Regions from separate parts of the Homo sapiens genome. Here all the other regions are linked to region 3. The links are contacts of gene promoters, found by promoter capture Hi-C in blood cells and fetal thymus (Javierre and others, 2016). All regions are on one chromosome and are shown on one strand. Each heading gives the region's core, a stretch centred on a gene start or on the middle of the fragment in contact. The rest is flanking DNA. Distances are from core to core; before and after follow the strand shown. Region 1 overlaps LINC02320 (long intergenic non-protein coding RNA 2320). Region 2 overlaps LINC02320 (long intergenic non-protein coding RNA 2320). Region 3 holds the start of DLK1 (delta like non-canonical Notch ligand 1).

The links. Contacts are between HindIII fragments. The CHiCAGO score rates a contact against its expected background, and 5 or more counts as called.
Region 1: a fragment that was not itself captured here is called in contact with the fragment with the promoter of DLK1 in region 3 in 7 of 17 cell types (endothelial precursors, M0 macrophages, fetal thymus and 4 more); the score reaches 10.3 in endothelial precursors.
Region 2: a fragment that was not itself captured here is called in contact with the fragment with the promoter of DLK1 in region 3 in 2 of 17 cell types (M1 macrophages and M0 macrophages); the score reaches 5.8 in M1 macrophages.

The regions. Positions count from the first base shown.
Region 1 is chr14:101,627,882-101,632,856 of GRCh38, forward strand. It overlaps LINC02320 (long intergenic non-protein coding RNA 2320), which reads right to left. Exons shown (of 6, transcript NR_184269.1): 5 at 4,532-4,705; 6 at 468-1,523. Among named protein-coding and RNA genes, the nearest start is that of DIO3, 69 kb to the left of the region's middle. The HindIII fragment of the contact is 1,032 bases long and covers 3,118-4,149 here.
Region 2 is chr14:101,654,246-101,659,188 of GRCh38, forward strand. The region is part of intron 1 of LINC02320 (long intergenic non-protein coding RNA 2320); the gene reads right to left. Among named protein-coding and RNA genes, the nearest start is that of LINC00239, 74 kb to the right of the region's middle. The HindIII fragment of the contact is 3,632 bases long and covers 918-4,549 here.
Region 3 is chr14:100,724,554-100,728,997 of GRCh38, forward strand. It overlaps DLK1 (delta like non-canonical Notch ligand 1), which reads left to right and starts at 2,339. Exons shown (of 5, transcript NM_003836.7): 1 at 2,339-2,582; 2 at 3,843-3,906; 3 at 4,383-4,444. The coding sequence starts at 2,516. The HindIII fragment of the contact is 10,517 bases long and covers 1-4,444 here.

The sequences.
Region 1 (4,975 bases), core at 2,384-4,883, 900 kb after region 3:
CCGGAGCGTCTCTCTCCAGGACTCAGTTTCCCCATCTGTGAAGTGAGGATAGTCCCACCCCCCAGCTCAATGGATCCCTGCGGGAGGAGGGAATGCGAGGCTGGTTGTGGGTCGGGGGGCCTCTTTCCGATTCTTCCTGAAGAACCCTGCACAGAGGAGACGGGGGACTGGGAGGGGCCTGGGTCTCCGAGTGTGGGCACGGGGAGCTGAGGTCTTGCAGCTCCTGGGTCTGGGGCGCCGGGGTTCTGTGAGAGCCCCAGCTTCGTCACGTACGACTTCCTCTCCTCTAATTGAGGGAATTGCAGAAGCCCCGGAGGGCGGCTGGTTCAGAGACCGAAACAAAGGCAGGATCAGGACCCTGGATCAGAATGGGGTCCACGCGTGAGTCTCTGTAATTAACGCTCTGGTGTCTCAAATTACGAGAAAATATATAAAACATGTAATTGCTTCTGTATTTTGGACACTCATTAGGAGAATAATAAATGTTATTATTTATTAATATGGTAATGAATCATCTCGCTTTTAAAATTAAACATTAAACCGCTAACAAATTAAATGTAAATTATTAGGCCCCGAGTTGATGGAAAGAGTTCCCCGGGGAGGGGCCGCTGGGCTCCTTCTTTGCAGAAATGAGTGCGTCGCCCTTTAACTAGGCGCGGAGGCTGCGAGCGGTGCGGGGTGACCTGAGGACACCCGAAGACACGGGCGACTCGCGGGGACATCCTGCCCCCTGCCGGCCGCGAGCGGGACCGCAGCGGCCCGCGGGTAGCGTCCCGCCGCGGAGGTGGTTTTTCCTTGTGATCTTTCCAGAAGCAGTGAAGCCCTCTTGGGCACCCGCGCCCCTCGCCTGGCAGACAGCCACCCGCTCGCGCACGAACTCGCTGCACAGAGCTGTCAGGAGTGGGGCGTGTGGCCTGGAGCGAGGCTGCTCGCGTAGGCTGGGCCTGGGCTCCTGGCCGTGTTGTCACCGCCAATCCCCACACACGCAAGAGAAAGCAGCTTCTAGCCTCATCTCACACACGGGAAAGTGAGGCTCAGAGATGTGTGGCCTGGCCGGGGTGCACAGCCAGTATCCGGTGGGCCTGGGATGCCAGCCCAGCCTGCCAGGCCCCAGGGTGGCCATCATGGAGTGGGACTCCCGGGCTGGCCCCCCAGAGCCTGTTCCAGGCACGTGCATTTGAATTAATGGGGTTACTGTTTCCTGAGGGCTCTTGCCAGACACCAGCTACTTACTGCACGTGGTTGAGCCCAATCAAGTAGGCAGTGTGCCCTGTGCCCATCTTACGCACGAGCAGACTGAGGCACGGAGAGGCTTCAGCGACTTGCCCAGGTCAGCAGCAAGGAAGTAGGGGCAGGAGAGAGAAGTAGGTCTTGCTGAGTCTAGAGTTAGCTCTTGACCACTCCAGGCCAGACTGGGTTCTCCCTCCTTCCAGGAGGAGGGCAGGCAGCCCCATCTGTGCCCATCCCTGCGGTGCACAAAACAGTGCAGCTTCCGGGCCACTGGCTGTGTTTCTAGGGATCACCTGAGTTAAAGCAAGAAAAGGAATCATTATTTTTTTAACCAATACATGATTTGGGGCTTAGAGGTTGTTTGCAGTCACTCTTATGAAGAATGCTACAGCAGACACCGTGGGTTCAAGGTTATTTCCTTGGGAAAGACTTCCAGAAGTCAAACTGCTGGAACCAAAGGCTGGGACAGCAGGATTTTGGCATGCATGTTATTAGGATCCTTCTCGTATATGTGTCCCAGCTTGCACTCATCTGGGGAGGGACTCAGAAAAGAGGGCCTCCTCCCCTCACAACCAATAGCACCCTTGAGATGGCCCAGGCTGGCAGGGTTGGAAAAGTCCAGCTCATCTATGGTCCAGTTCTCTGGTGGGCACTGACCCTTGAGCCAGCCACACCCACACCCACACCCACACCCATGCCTGTGGGGATCAGAGGTCAATAGATGCAGCCTCCAATGGTCTGAGGCTCCCTGACTTTCCTCCCGCCTTCTCTCCGTGTGTAATCCCAGCCCAGGGCCACCCTTTGGTGGCAAACACAGACACCCCTGTGTCAGCCATACGTATTCAGCCAAGGCTTTATGAGTACCTTCCACTTAGGAACCCTCACTTCTGTCTCTGCCTTCCCTTGCGATTATGAGTCCCAGCAATGGCAGCTGAGCACTCAGGATGCCCACTCCTGGCTCTGACTTTACGTCACTTTCTCAACACGTTACAGGTGAAGAGCCTGCCAAGTGGCCGAGCCACGATTTGGCCCCAGAGCCCAAGTTCTGTTCTTTCCTTGGGTCTCTGCTGTCTGCCCAGGCCTGAGCATGGTCCCTCAGACAGGCTCAGGAAGTATTTGTGGATGAATCAATGAACGACCCCGTGAGGGCCTTTGCCTTTCTCCCCTGCCAGGCTGGGAGCCCCCAGAAGACAAGTGGGGTTGACCATGTGCCTGGAAGGAGTCACGGCTCCTCTCTAGACCGGAACTCCCCACTAGAGCGATGGGGTGCCACAGGGTATCCCAGCAGGCCCGGCAAGCACATCACAGGAGCGTGGAGAAGCGGGACCAGCCGTGCCCCCATCCCTGGGAGCCCTGCCCCCAGCCTTGTCTAAGGCCTCACTTGCCCCATATCTGGTTTGGGGAGCAGGTTTCTCACCCCAATATGATTCTGTTCTCTGCCCCCTCTGCCCTCCTACCCCACACATCCCAGCGTGGATGGACGAGACTTCGCCCCTGCCTCCTGCCCGGGCCCCTGCCATGGGAAGGGGACGCATTATTGCTCTCTCTCAGGGCTATTCAGACACCAACTAATTTATTTCCCTCCTGCCCCCTTCCTTATTGATCAATGCTTTAGCTGAGTGGCTGTTAAATGACTTGTTCCCATAGCAACCATCAGATACATGCTCGGATCTGATGTGTCTGTTTCCTGAGCCAGATCGCCTCCTAAGAGCTTGGAGAGAACAAATCTCCTTTCATATCCGTCGCTGTCTTCTGAAAGGCACAGGATATTGTTCAGAACAAGTCATTTTTTAAAACAATATTAAAAAAAGAACTAGGTTTTTCAACAGATATAAAGTTGTTTCATAAGGTGCATCATTCTTAAGAAGTATTAAATCAGATTTTAAAAGCTTTGACCAAGTTAATCTTTCTTCTGCCTACTTTTCCTTCTGCACAGGGGGAAGTATGGAAACGGTCTCTGCATAAAGATACTCTGCTGCATCATTTATAAAAAGAAAAATTGAAAACAGCCTAAAAGCACAATAGACGATTCAAATGATCTATGGTTCACATACCTGTGAGGGTTTTATAGAGATGCTGAAACGCTGCTTAGAAGAGAGAAACACACATGTCAACAACGTGAAGTGAAAAAAAAGAAACAAGATTAAAAACTGTGTCTGCACGGGTGAGCATAATGAATGGAAAACAAAGCTAAATTATGTAGAGGAAAAAATACTCAGGAAAACAAACACAGTGAAATGTTGACAGAAGTGTTTCTTGTTGGCAGAGCCATGGGATTTTCTTCCTTATTCACTTACTTAATACATATTTATTGAGCACCTACTACGAGCCCAGCCCTGTCTGAGGCATTAACAGCACAACTGCTATTTCTACTGCCTATATTTTCCCAAATGTGTTTAAAACTGTTTTAAAACTATGTATTTTTTTCTTATTTTTGTTTGTTTGTTTGTTTGTTCTGAGACAGGCTCAAGTGATCCTCCCACCTCAGCCTCCCCAGTAGCTGGGACTACAGGCGTGCACTACTACACCCCACTAATTTTTGTATTTTTTGTAGAAACAGGGTCTCGTTGTGCTGCCCAAGCTAGCCTCGAGCTCCGGGCCTCAAGCAATCCACCCACCTCAGCTTCCCAAGCTCTGGGATTACAGGTGTGAGCCACCGTGCCCAGCCAAGTATAATTTTTTTTAATGACAGGGTACATGTTTCACCTGCCACGTTGCCAACAAATAAACATAAGACGCTCTGTTGGTGAGGAGAGGATATAGGAACACCAGCCCCGCCTGGCAGAAGAATGAATGACCACGACCAATAAAGGACCAGTTATCAACACTTAAAACCGACATACTTTTTCCCAGCAATTCCACCTGTAGTCATTGTCCCTACTGGGATTCTCTCCCACCTTTGTCGTGGGATGTTTACGAAGCTTGTTTACCGTGGCATGTGACTGCTGGAACCCCGAATGGTCCTCGCCAGGGGATGGCTACCCAGATCGTGGTTCAGACTCAGGAAAACACTGAGCCCTGAGAAGAACGAGGCGATCTGCCAGTGTGTGGAACACTAAGCTGAGGTCCCTAAGGGACAGAGCAAGGCGGATCACTTGAGATCAGGAATTCGAGACCAGCCTGGCCAACATGGTGAAACCCTGTCTCTACTAAACATACAAAAATTAGCCGGGCGTGGTGGCGGGCACCTGTAATCCCAGCTCCTTGGGAGGCTGAAGCAGGAGAATCCCTTGAACCTGGGAGGTGGAGGTTGCAGTGAGCCGAGATCATGCCCAAGATCTCTGCTCTTCCCCCGTCTTGCCTTAGTGATCCTGGGCATGTCCCTTCACCTCTGCGGCCTCAGTTTCTCATCTGCACAGTGAAGATGCTGATGCCCGCCTGGCTGATGCCCGCCTGGCTGCTTCCTGGACAGATTTCCCAGGATGTGCTGTGTGACAGGCCTTCCACACAGGCCCTCAGGCACCTTTTCTTCTTCCTGAGATGGAAACAACAAAAAAGTTGGTGCATGGTCACCAGCGATCCCCAAACTACGACCTCTGCCCTCTTTTCCTGCAGACCCCTCAAAAATCACGAAAGGGGCCCTTGCAATAGGGGGTCTCTATGGACTCAAACAAAGGGCTTTCCCTGGGAGGGGCTGCCGGCCTTTGCCTATAACATGCGTGATGTAGTTTTTAAGACTAGCAAAAGCCCAGCCTGGCATTATCTAGCATTGAGGTACAGCGTCTCACGGAAAGTTCTTTTTTAT
Region 2 (4,943 bases), core at 1,484-3,983, 930 kb after region 3:
ATGTTGCTAAGTGACATGTATTAGCCCTGTGAGATGCTTAAGTGGGCCTTATGGCTACCATTAATCTGATAGCCATGATATGCCTCTTACAGTATACTATAATCTTTGTTTAATATGATCTTATTTTTCTAGTTTAAGGTGGAAGAAGAGGTTATTGATTTGAGAATTATCACTGGTAATTTATGTTTATTGCTACAATTCCCCACCCCCACTGTGGTGCTTTTACAGCATCCCACAAATCTAATATGTTGTGTTTTTATTTGCATTAAGTTTCCAATATTTTCTAATGTCTGTTTTGATACCTTCTTTGATCTATGAATTATTTACAAGTATGTTGTTTAGTTTCCAATTATAAGGGGGTTTTCCAAGGATTCTTCTGCTACTGATTTCTAGTTTAATTCCACTGTGGTGAAACAGCACACAGACATTTCGCATTTCATTGCACTTTGCTTCATTGAGATTCACAGATCTTGTGTTGTTTACAAATTGAAGGTTTGTGGCAACCCTGCATCAAGCAACTCTATCAGCACAATTTTTCCAACTGCATGTGCTTGCTTCAAGTCTCTGTGTCACATTTCAGTAATCCTCACAATATTTCAGAATTTTTCATTATTATTATATCTATTTTGTTGACCTGTAATCAGCGATCTTTTATGTTACCATTTTAATTATTTTGGGGGCACCACAAACTGCATCCGTGTAAAACAGCGAACTTAATCGATAACTGTTGCGTGTTCTGACTGCTCCACCGACCAGCCATACTCCCATCTCTCCCCCTCTCCTTGTGTCGCTCTATTCCCTGAGACACAACAGTATTGAAATTCAGTCAATTAATAACCCTACAATGGCCTTTAAGTGTTCAAGGGACAGAAAGAATCACACATCTCTCATTTTAAATCAAAAGCTAGAAATAATTAAGCTTAGTGAGGAAGATATGTCAAAAACCGAGATAGGCTGAAACTTAGGCTCTTGCATCAGAAACAGCCAAGTTGTGGAGGCAAAGGAAAAGCTCATGAAAGAAACTGAAAGTGCTACTCCAGTGAACACACAAAGGATAAGACAGTGAAACAGGCTTATTGCTGATATGAAGAAAGTTTTAGTGTTGTGAGTAAATAAAACCAGCCACAACATTCCCTTAAGACAAAGCCTAATCCAGAGCAAAGCCCTACCTCTCTTCAATTTTATGAAGGCTGAGAGAGGTGAGGAAGCAGCAGAAGACAAGTTGGAAACCAGCAGAGGTTGGTTCATGAGGTATAAGGAAAGAAGCCATCTCCATAACATAAAAGTGCAAAGTGAGGCAGCAAGTGCTGATGTAGAAGCTGCAGCAAGTTATTCAGAAGACCTAGCTAAGATCATTAATGAAGGCAGCTAGATTAAACAACAGATTTTCAATGTAAATGAAACGGCCTTATATTGGCAGAAGATGCCATCTAGAACTTTCATAGCTACAGAAGAGAAGTCAATGCTGGCTTGAAACATCAAAGGACACGCTGACACTCTTGGCAGGGGCTAATGCAGCTGGTGACTTTGAGTTGAATCCGGTGTTCATTTACCATTCTGCAAATCCTAGGGAATTATGCTAAATCTACTCTGCATGTGTTCTCTAGATGGAACAACAAAACCTGGATGACAGCACGTTTACAGCATGGCTTACTGAATACTTTAAAGCCACTCTTGAGACCCATGCTCAAATTTCTCTCAAAATATTACTGTTCATGACAGTGCCTGTAGTCAACCAACAGCTCTGATGGAGGTGTACAAGGAGATTAATGTTTTTATGCCTGCTAGGACAACGTCCATTCTGCAGCCCATGAGTCAAAGCGTAATTCTGACTTTCAAGTCTTGTTATTTAAGAAACACGTTTCATAACACTATAGCTGCCGTAGGTATGCTTCCCCTGATGGAGCTAGGCAAAGTAAATTGAAAACTTTCTGGAAAGAATTCACAATTCTAGATGCCATTAAGAACATTTGTGATTCATGGGAAGAGGTCAAAATAGCAGCATTAACAGGAGTTTGGGCGGGCACAGTGGCTCGTGCTTGTAATCCCAGCATTTTGGGAGGCTGAGGAGGGCGGATGGCTTGAGTCCAGGAGTTTGAGACCAGCCTGGACAACATGGTAAAACCCCATCTCTACTAAAAATGCAAAAATTAGCTGGCTATGGTGCCGTGCACCTGTAGTCCCAGCTACTTTGGGGGCTGAGATGGGAGGATTACCTGAGCCCAGAAGTCGAGGCTGCAGTGAGCCAAGATCACACCACTGACCTCCAGCCTGGGTGACAAAGTGAGACCTTGTCTCAAAATAAAACAAGAGTTTGGAAGACGTTGGTCCCGACCCTCATGGATAACTTTGAGGGGTTCGAGACATCAGTAGAGGAAGGAACTGCAGATATGATAGAAATAGCAAGAGAACCAGAATTATAAGTGGAGCCTAAAGATGTGACTGGATTGCTACGATCTCATGAGAAAACTTGAACAGATGAGGAGTTGGTTCTTATGGCTGAGCAAATAAAGTGGTTTCTTGAAATGGAATAACTCCTGGTGAAGATGCTGTGAACACTGTTGAAATGACAACAGAGGATTTAGAATATTCCATAAACCCAGTTGATAAAACAGTGGCAGGCTTTGAGAGGACTGACTCCAATTTTGAAAGTTCTACTGTGGGTAAAATGCTGCCAAATAGCATCACAAGCTACAGAGAAATCTTTCATGAAAGGAAAAGTCCATCAATGTGACAAACTTCATTCTTGTTTCATATTAAGAAATTGGGCCAGGCACAATGGCTCATGCCTGTAATCCTAACACTTTGGGAGGCCAAGTGGGGAATATCACTTGAGGCCAGGAGTTCCAGACCAGCCTGGACAATAAAAAGAGACCTTGACTCTACAAAAAAATTAAAGAAATCAGCCAGACACAGTGGCACATGCCTGTAGTCCCAGTTACTCAGGAGGCTAAGGTGGGAGGATCCCTTGAACCCAGGAGTTTGAGGTTGCAGTGAACTATGATTGTGCCACTGCATGCTAGCCTGGGTAAAGAGTGAGACCCTATCTCAAAAAAAAAGAAAGAAAGAAATTGCCACAACCACTGCCAGTAACCACCACCCTGATCAGTCAACAGCCATCAACATCAAGGTAAGATCCTCCACCAGCAAAAAGACTATGACTTGCTGAAGGCTCAGATGATAGTTAGCATTTTTAGCAATGAAGTATTTTGAATTAAGATATGTACATTGCTTTTTAGATATCATGCTATTGCACACTTGAAAGCTACAGAATAGGGTAAACATACTTTTATTTGTTCAGGGAAACCAAAAAAATCATGTGACTCACTTTATTGCAATATCCATTTTATTGTGGTGATCTGGAACCAAACCCACAATACCTCAGAGGTATGCCTGTATTGATATGACTTGAATCATTTTAAATATGTTGAGATTTGTTTTATAGCTCACAATATAGTCAAATATGGTAAACATTCTGTATTTTTAAAAAAGTGTGTCCTCCTGTTGTTGAGTAGAGTGTCCTATAAATGTCAATTAGTTCAAGTTATCAATAGCATTGTTCAAGTTTTCATATTCATACTGACTTTCTATCTAATTGCTCTCAAAAATTATTGAAAAAGAGGTATTGAAATCTCTGATTTTCACTGTGTCTATTTCTCCTTCTGGTTCTATCAGATTTTCTTCATGCATTTTAGAGCTCTTTTGTTAGGTGCATTAACATTTAGAATTGTTTTTGTTCTCTTGGTGAATTGAAATCTTTATCATTATGAAATTGGCTTCCTAGCCATTTGTGGTGGCCCACACCTGTAATCCTAGCACTTTGGGAGGCTGGGGTGGGTGGAACACTTTGAGCTCAGGAGTTCAAGGTCAGCCTGGACAACATGGAGAAACCCTGTCTCTACAAAAAATACAAAAATGAGCCAGGCATGGTGGCTTATGCCTGTGGTCCCAGCTACTCAGGAGGCTAAGGTTGGAGGATCACTTGGCTCGGGAAGCGGAGGTTGCAGTGAGCCGAGATGGCAACACTGCACTCCAGCCTGGGTGACAGAGCGAGACCCTGTCTCAAAAAAAAAAAAAAAAAAAGAAAGAAAAGAAAAGAGGAGAGAGAGAGAGAGAGAAAGAAATTAGTGTCCTTATCCTTGGTAAAAATCTTCTGCCTTAAATCTTTTTTTATATTAATCCAGTTATTCCAGGCTTATTTTGAATAGTGTTAGCATGGCATACTGCTTTTCATTCTCTTACTTTTCATCTATTTCTGTATTTAAAGTGCATTTTGAGCCAGGTGTGGTAGTGCACGCCTGTAGTCCCAGTACTCAGGAGACTGAAGTGGGAGGATTGTTTGAGTCCAGGAGTTCAAGGCCAGCCTGGGCAACATAGTGAGAACCTGTCTTTAATTAATTAAAATTTTGAAATAATTGACTAAAAATAAAATAAAGTGCATTTTGTATAGACAGGAGATGCTTGGCTCACTTTTTTATCCAGCCTGTAACTTTTAATTGGAAGTTTAGATAATTTATATCTAATGTATTTATAATTTTGATTAGACTTAAGCTTATCCTGCTATTTGTTTTCCATTAGTTCTATCTGTTCTCTGTTATCTTTATCCTCTTTTCAGCCTTCTTTTGGATTACTTGAATATTTTTTATTATGTCGTTTTTATCTGCTTTTTTGGCTTGGTAGGTCTCATTGTTCTATTATTTTTGTGATTGCTTTAAGAATTACAGTATACATCTTTAATGTATCACAATCTACCTTTAATGATAGATATTATACCATTTCACGTCTAATATAGGAAACTTGCACTAGTACGCTTCTATTTTCTCCTTATGACCTTTGTGCTATTGTTGTCATACATTTTTCTTCTATAAATGTATAAAACCAACAATATGTTGTCATTCTTTTTATATTTAAGATGTGTAAACAATTTTTAAAATCTTACATAT
Region 3 (4,444 bases), core at 1,089-3,588:
GGGGAGGGCTGTGGTGGGGCTGGGGGCGGGGGTGGGAAGGGGGAAGAACCTGGATGGGGAAGGGAGGAGTCTAGGTATGTGTGTGGGTGGGGACACTGGGGCCCCCTAAGTGCTCCATGCAGTCCAGGGAGTCTCCTCTCTGCGGGACTTTGGCAAGAGCCTGGGAGGCCCTTGCCCCAGGGCTACCCAGCCCTGAGATCCTCCACCCCTCCTTGGCTTCTGGCTGAGAACTCAGCTCTTCCAGGTCTGCCTGCTGTTGGGATAATTTTGGAGGCTGAAGTCAGGGGCCTCGAAGGGAGGGAAGAGAGGAACCCTGGTCAGGAAGACCTTGGCGATCACCATGCAGTGGACATTGGCACCCAGGGTTGGGCCTGTCAGCCAGACACTCTCGTTCTAGGCCAAGGGCCTTGGGCAAAGGACCTTCCATCACTGAAGTTGGTTTCTTGACTTGAGGAAAGAGTCCACGGAAGAAAGTAGGGTCACAGGAATGCAAGGGCATGTGGCAGGCACACAGTGGGCACCCCAACTGCTCCCTACAGCCTGTCCCCAAAGCCGTTCCCAGCAGCCCCTACCTATCTGGGCATTCTGCAGATAACATCAGGGAAGGGATATCTTCCACCAGGGGCTGGGAGTTTCCCTCCAGCCTCCTTGGAGCCAGCCCAGAGCAGCTCTGGTCTCTGTCCATCCCTGTACCCATCCCGAGTGCCTTACTGGAGCACTGACTTAGGGGTGGTGGGCCTGGGGATGCCCATGGGCCTGCCTTCCCACATCTATGGCTAAGATGGGAAATCTGTGCTCAGACCTGCCAGGGCTGGACTAGAGGGCCAGGAGGTCAAAGCATCCAGCCTCCAGGTTCACAGTGGTGAGATCACACCCCCCTGCAGCACTGTGAAGAAGGGGAGGCCGCGAGCTGGGTGGGCACCCACTCCCTGCATCTAGGATATGTATGCAAATTAATATATGCAAATTAAGTATCCTAAACGACCCACCCAAAGATTGGGACGCCTGGGACCCTTCCCCCAGGAGGTGAAATATCTTTAATCCCCTCCTACCCCTCTCCCTCCCTATCTTTCTGAGCCTCCCCCATCCAGACTGGGTGCAGGGGTGCAGAGCTTTCCTCTCCAGCAGGGCTCTAAGCCTAAGCCGGGGGCAATGGGGAGGAGGGGTGTCTGAGGAGCACTCCCTCTCCCTGGGAGCTCTGCAGAGGAAGAGGGTCTCTGGCAATCAGCATCCTCTACCTCCACCTCTCCAGCGGGCGACCCCTCAGAGAAGGTCTCCCAGTGAGTCTGGAATACGTGCCGAGTGCCTGGAGTGCTATTGTGTGTATGTGAGAGCACATTGGTGAGGCTGCCCATGCATGCCACTGTGGACAAAGACAGATGCGATCGTGTGTGTGTGGGGACTGCGTATATGTTTTTGTCAGTGTGTGTGACCACGAGTCAGCTGGGTATGTGTGCTTGTGGGTATCAGGTGCATGGCTGTGCGTACATGTGTGCGTAAGAGTCGGTGCATTTGTGTTTCAGCGCGGCTAAGGCCCTGACTGAGATGCTGTGTGTGCGGGGGTGGGTGTGACTGAATGCGGGCACGGGTGTCCGTCTGTTTATACGTGTGTTTGCGTGTTTGGGTGTGCAGGTGGCTCTGCGTAAGCGTCTGTGTGCAGGGGGTCGGCACATGGGGGAGGATGCCCATGGTTGGGTAACCGCAGGTCCGCTTGACCCTCTGCCACCTAGGACTGTGTCTATACGGCGTCTGGGCTACAGTGTGTTTGAGTTGCCGTGTGCGTTTCCGTTGCGGGGTGTGGGTTGCCACGGGGCAACTGCATTTTTCTGCGTCTTCATGGCCAGGGGTACAGGGGGCGTCGGGCTTTTCCTGGGGGTTTTTCTGTGTGCGTGTGTAATTATGTGCTTAGTTCACATCTTCATAGTGCGCCTTTGTGTTTTCCTGGGTATCTAACCATTGCACGTGTGCCCGGGACTTCAGCGATAAGTGTTTCGGTGTTCCTGCGTGCGGATTTGTGCTCTCCGGGGAGGTCTGCGGCCCAGGTTCGATTCCTGCGACTTGTCCTAGGCAGGCCTGTATGTGCGCGGCGGCCGCGTGCTGTACAGTGTGAGGGAACGTGTACCAAACGCTCGCGGGATACCTGTGCCCGTCTAGCCAAGAGTGCACCCGTGTGCGCGAGCGGGCTTCTGGGACGCCGCCGTGGTCGGGGGCGGCCCTGCGAGGGGAGGGGGTCACAGGGACTGGCCGGCGCCGGCCCCGTGCGCACGGAGGCGGGGGCGGGGGGCGGGGGCCGCGAGGGGGGAGGCGGTACGAAAAGGGCGGCGCGCGCGGCGGCGGCGGCAGCTCCCCGGCAGCGGCGGTGGAGAGCGCAGCGCGCAGCCCGGTGCAGCCCTGGCTTTCCCCTCGCTGCGCGCCCGCGCCCCCTTTCGCGTCCGCAACCAGAAGCCCAGTGCGGCGCCAGGAGCCGGACCCGCGCCCGCACCGCTCCCGGGACCGCGACCCCGGCCGCCCAGAGATGACCGCGACCGAAGCCCTCCTGCGCGTCCTCTTGCTCCTGCTGGCTTTCGGCCACAGCACCTATGGTGAGTTCCCCGGCGGCCCGGCTCGCGCCCCCTCTGGGGAAGCCTGCGACTCCCCGCCGGCCGCCCGGTGCCCCGCACGCCCCGTCTCGTGAGCCCCAACTCCGCCCGTCCCGCCTAGCCCTAAGCCCCGCGCTGTGCCTGTCTCGCCCTACCCACCACGCTCGCATGCCAAGGCCCGTCCCAGGGGTCCCAGGGCGCAGGGGATGTGTGAGACCCCCAGCCCCTTCCCGCCCTGCAGAAGTGGCGCCAGAGGGGTGTCGGTGCGCTGAGCAAGGAGGTATGGAAAAATGGGGTGCTGTTGTGGAGTCTTCTATGAAAATACTCTGGGGTGCAACTTTGGGGTGTCCCTGTGTGAGCGTTCTGGAACAGGTCTCGGGGCGGGAGTGGGGGACGACTTTGCCGTCTTAGCCCCCAATTCCCAGAGAAGCCCAGCCTGAGCCCTTCCTGCGTGGCGCGTTTCTGTAGGTGAGGGGCTGCGACACTTCTGTCTGCAGCGGCCATCTGTCTCTGACAGCGAGAGAGTTGCCCCCTTCCTGCAGCGCCCCCCCACTCATTGCACCAGTGGTTGTAAGGGGGCTGTCTAGAAAGCTGGGGAGCTGGTTGAGTAAATGCACACAGTAGGTGCCTGTTAAAGTGTCAGAATCTCTAAGCAGTGTTGTTGCAACCTCAGCCCGCTAAGCAAAACCCTGTGTCGTCATCGTTTTTTTAATGCGAAGAGTCTGGGGTAGGGGAAAGAGGGAAGATTTGACCTGGGTGCCCGGCTTAATAGGGATGAACCTTAAAAAGAATGCAGACGCCTTACTGGGGCGCCCACCAGGTGAACCTGTCTGGGCTTTCCCGGAGTTGAACACCTCAAAATCTGCTCCTCTTTTCAGCTCAGGTTGCAAAAGTGACGGTCAGGCTGCATGCCCAGGGCTCAACATATTTCCCTCCACGGTCCCCGTCCCCGCTGTTAGGAGGACTTGAGGTGTCGTATTTGCTTTTGGGAGTCCGAGGAGAAGGTGTTTCTCCTGCTCCTAAGAACGAGGGAGAGTGTACTGTGGTCATTTCATTGCTGGGAACGTGGCAGAGATGTTTTTCCTGAGTGCACTGAGCCCCATCCATGCTCGGATAGGAAGTGCCTACTGTGTGCCAGGCTGGTAGGACCCAAGAGGGCTGTTGGTGCCCTCGAGGGCAGTGGTGGGCTGTGTGGGCGAAGACAGCCTTTGCCTTGGCCTGGGGCCTGGTGGGGTGAATTGTATAACCTTTCTTGTACCTCAGGGGCTGAATGCTTCCCGGCCTGCAACCCCCAAAATGGATTCTGCGAGGATGACAATGTTTGCAGGTAATAGAGTGGCTCCTCAGAGGCAGCTTGTAGGGGCCACGCAGAAGCCTGGGGAGTCGTGAAGTCAGGCAGAAAAAAATAGGGGGCTTGGCCACTACGCTGCAGCAAACAGCTTCCGGGCCCCTGCAGAAAACTGGTGGGGCGAGCTGGGGAGATGGGGGGGGCGGGGGGGGGGCAGCCACAGCTCCTGTCTGCGTTCTCAGAGGTGGGGGGGCAGGTGGGACCACTGCAGGCCACTGCGGCAAAACGCAGCACTCCCCCGGGATCTCGGGGCCCCTCCAAGTCGGCCCCCTCAGCTTGGCATGTTTTCTCTTTAAGTTTTCCCATTCAGGTGGCTGGTGTTTACTTCCCAGGACCACCGGCTGCCACTGTGCAAAGACCCCCAAGGGTCCTTGGTTCCACAGAAAGTAGCCTGAGCTGCCTCTCTACCCCTGCCCTCTTCATATGTCCCCACCTTTCTCCCCCACCCATTGCAGGTGCCAGCCTGGCTGGCAGGGTCCCCTTTGTGACCAGTGCGTGACCTCTCCCGGCTGCCTTC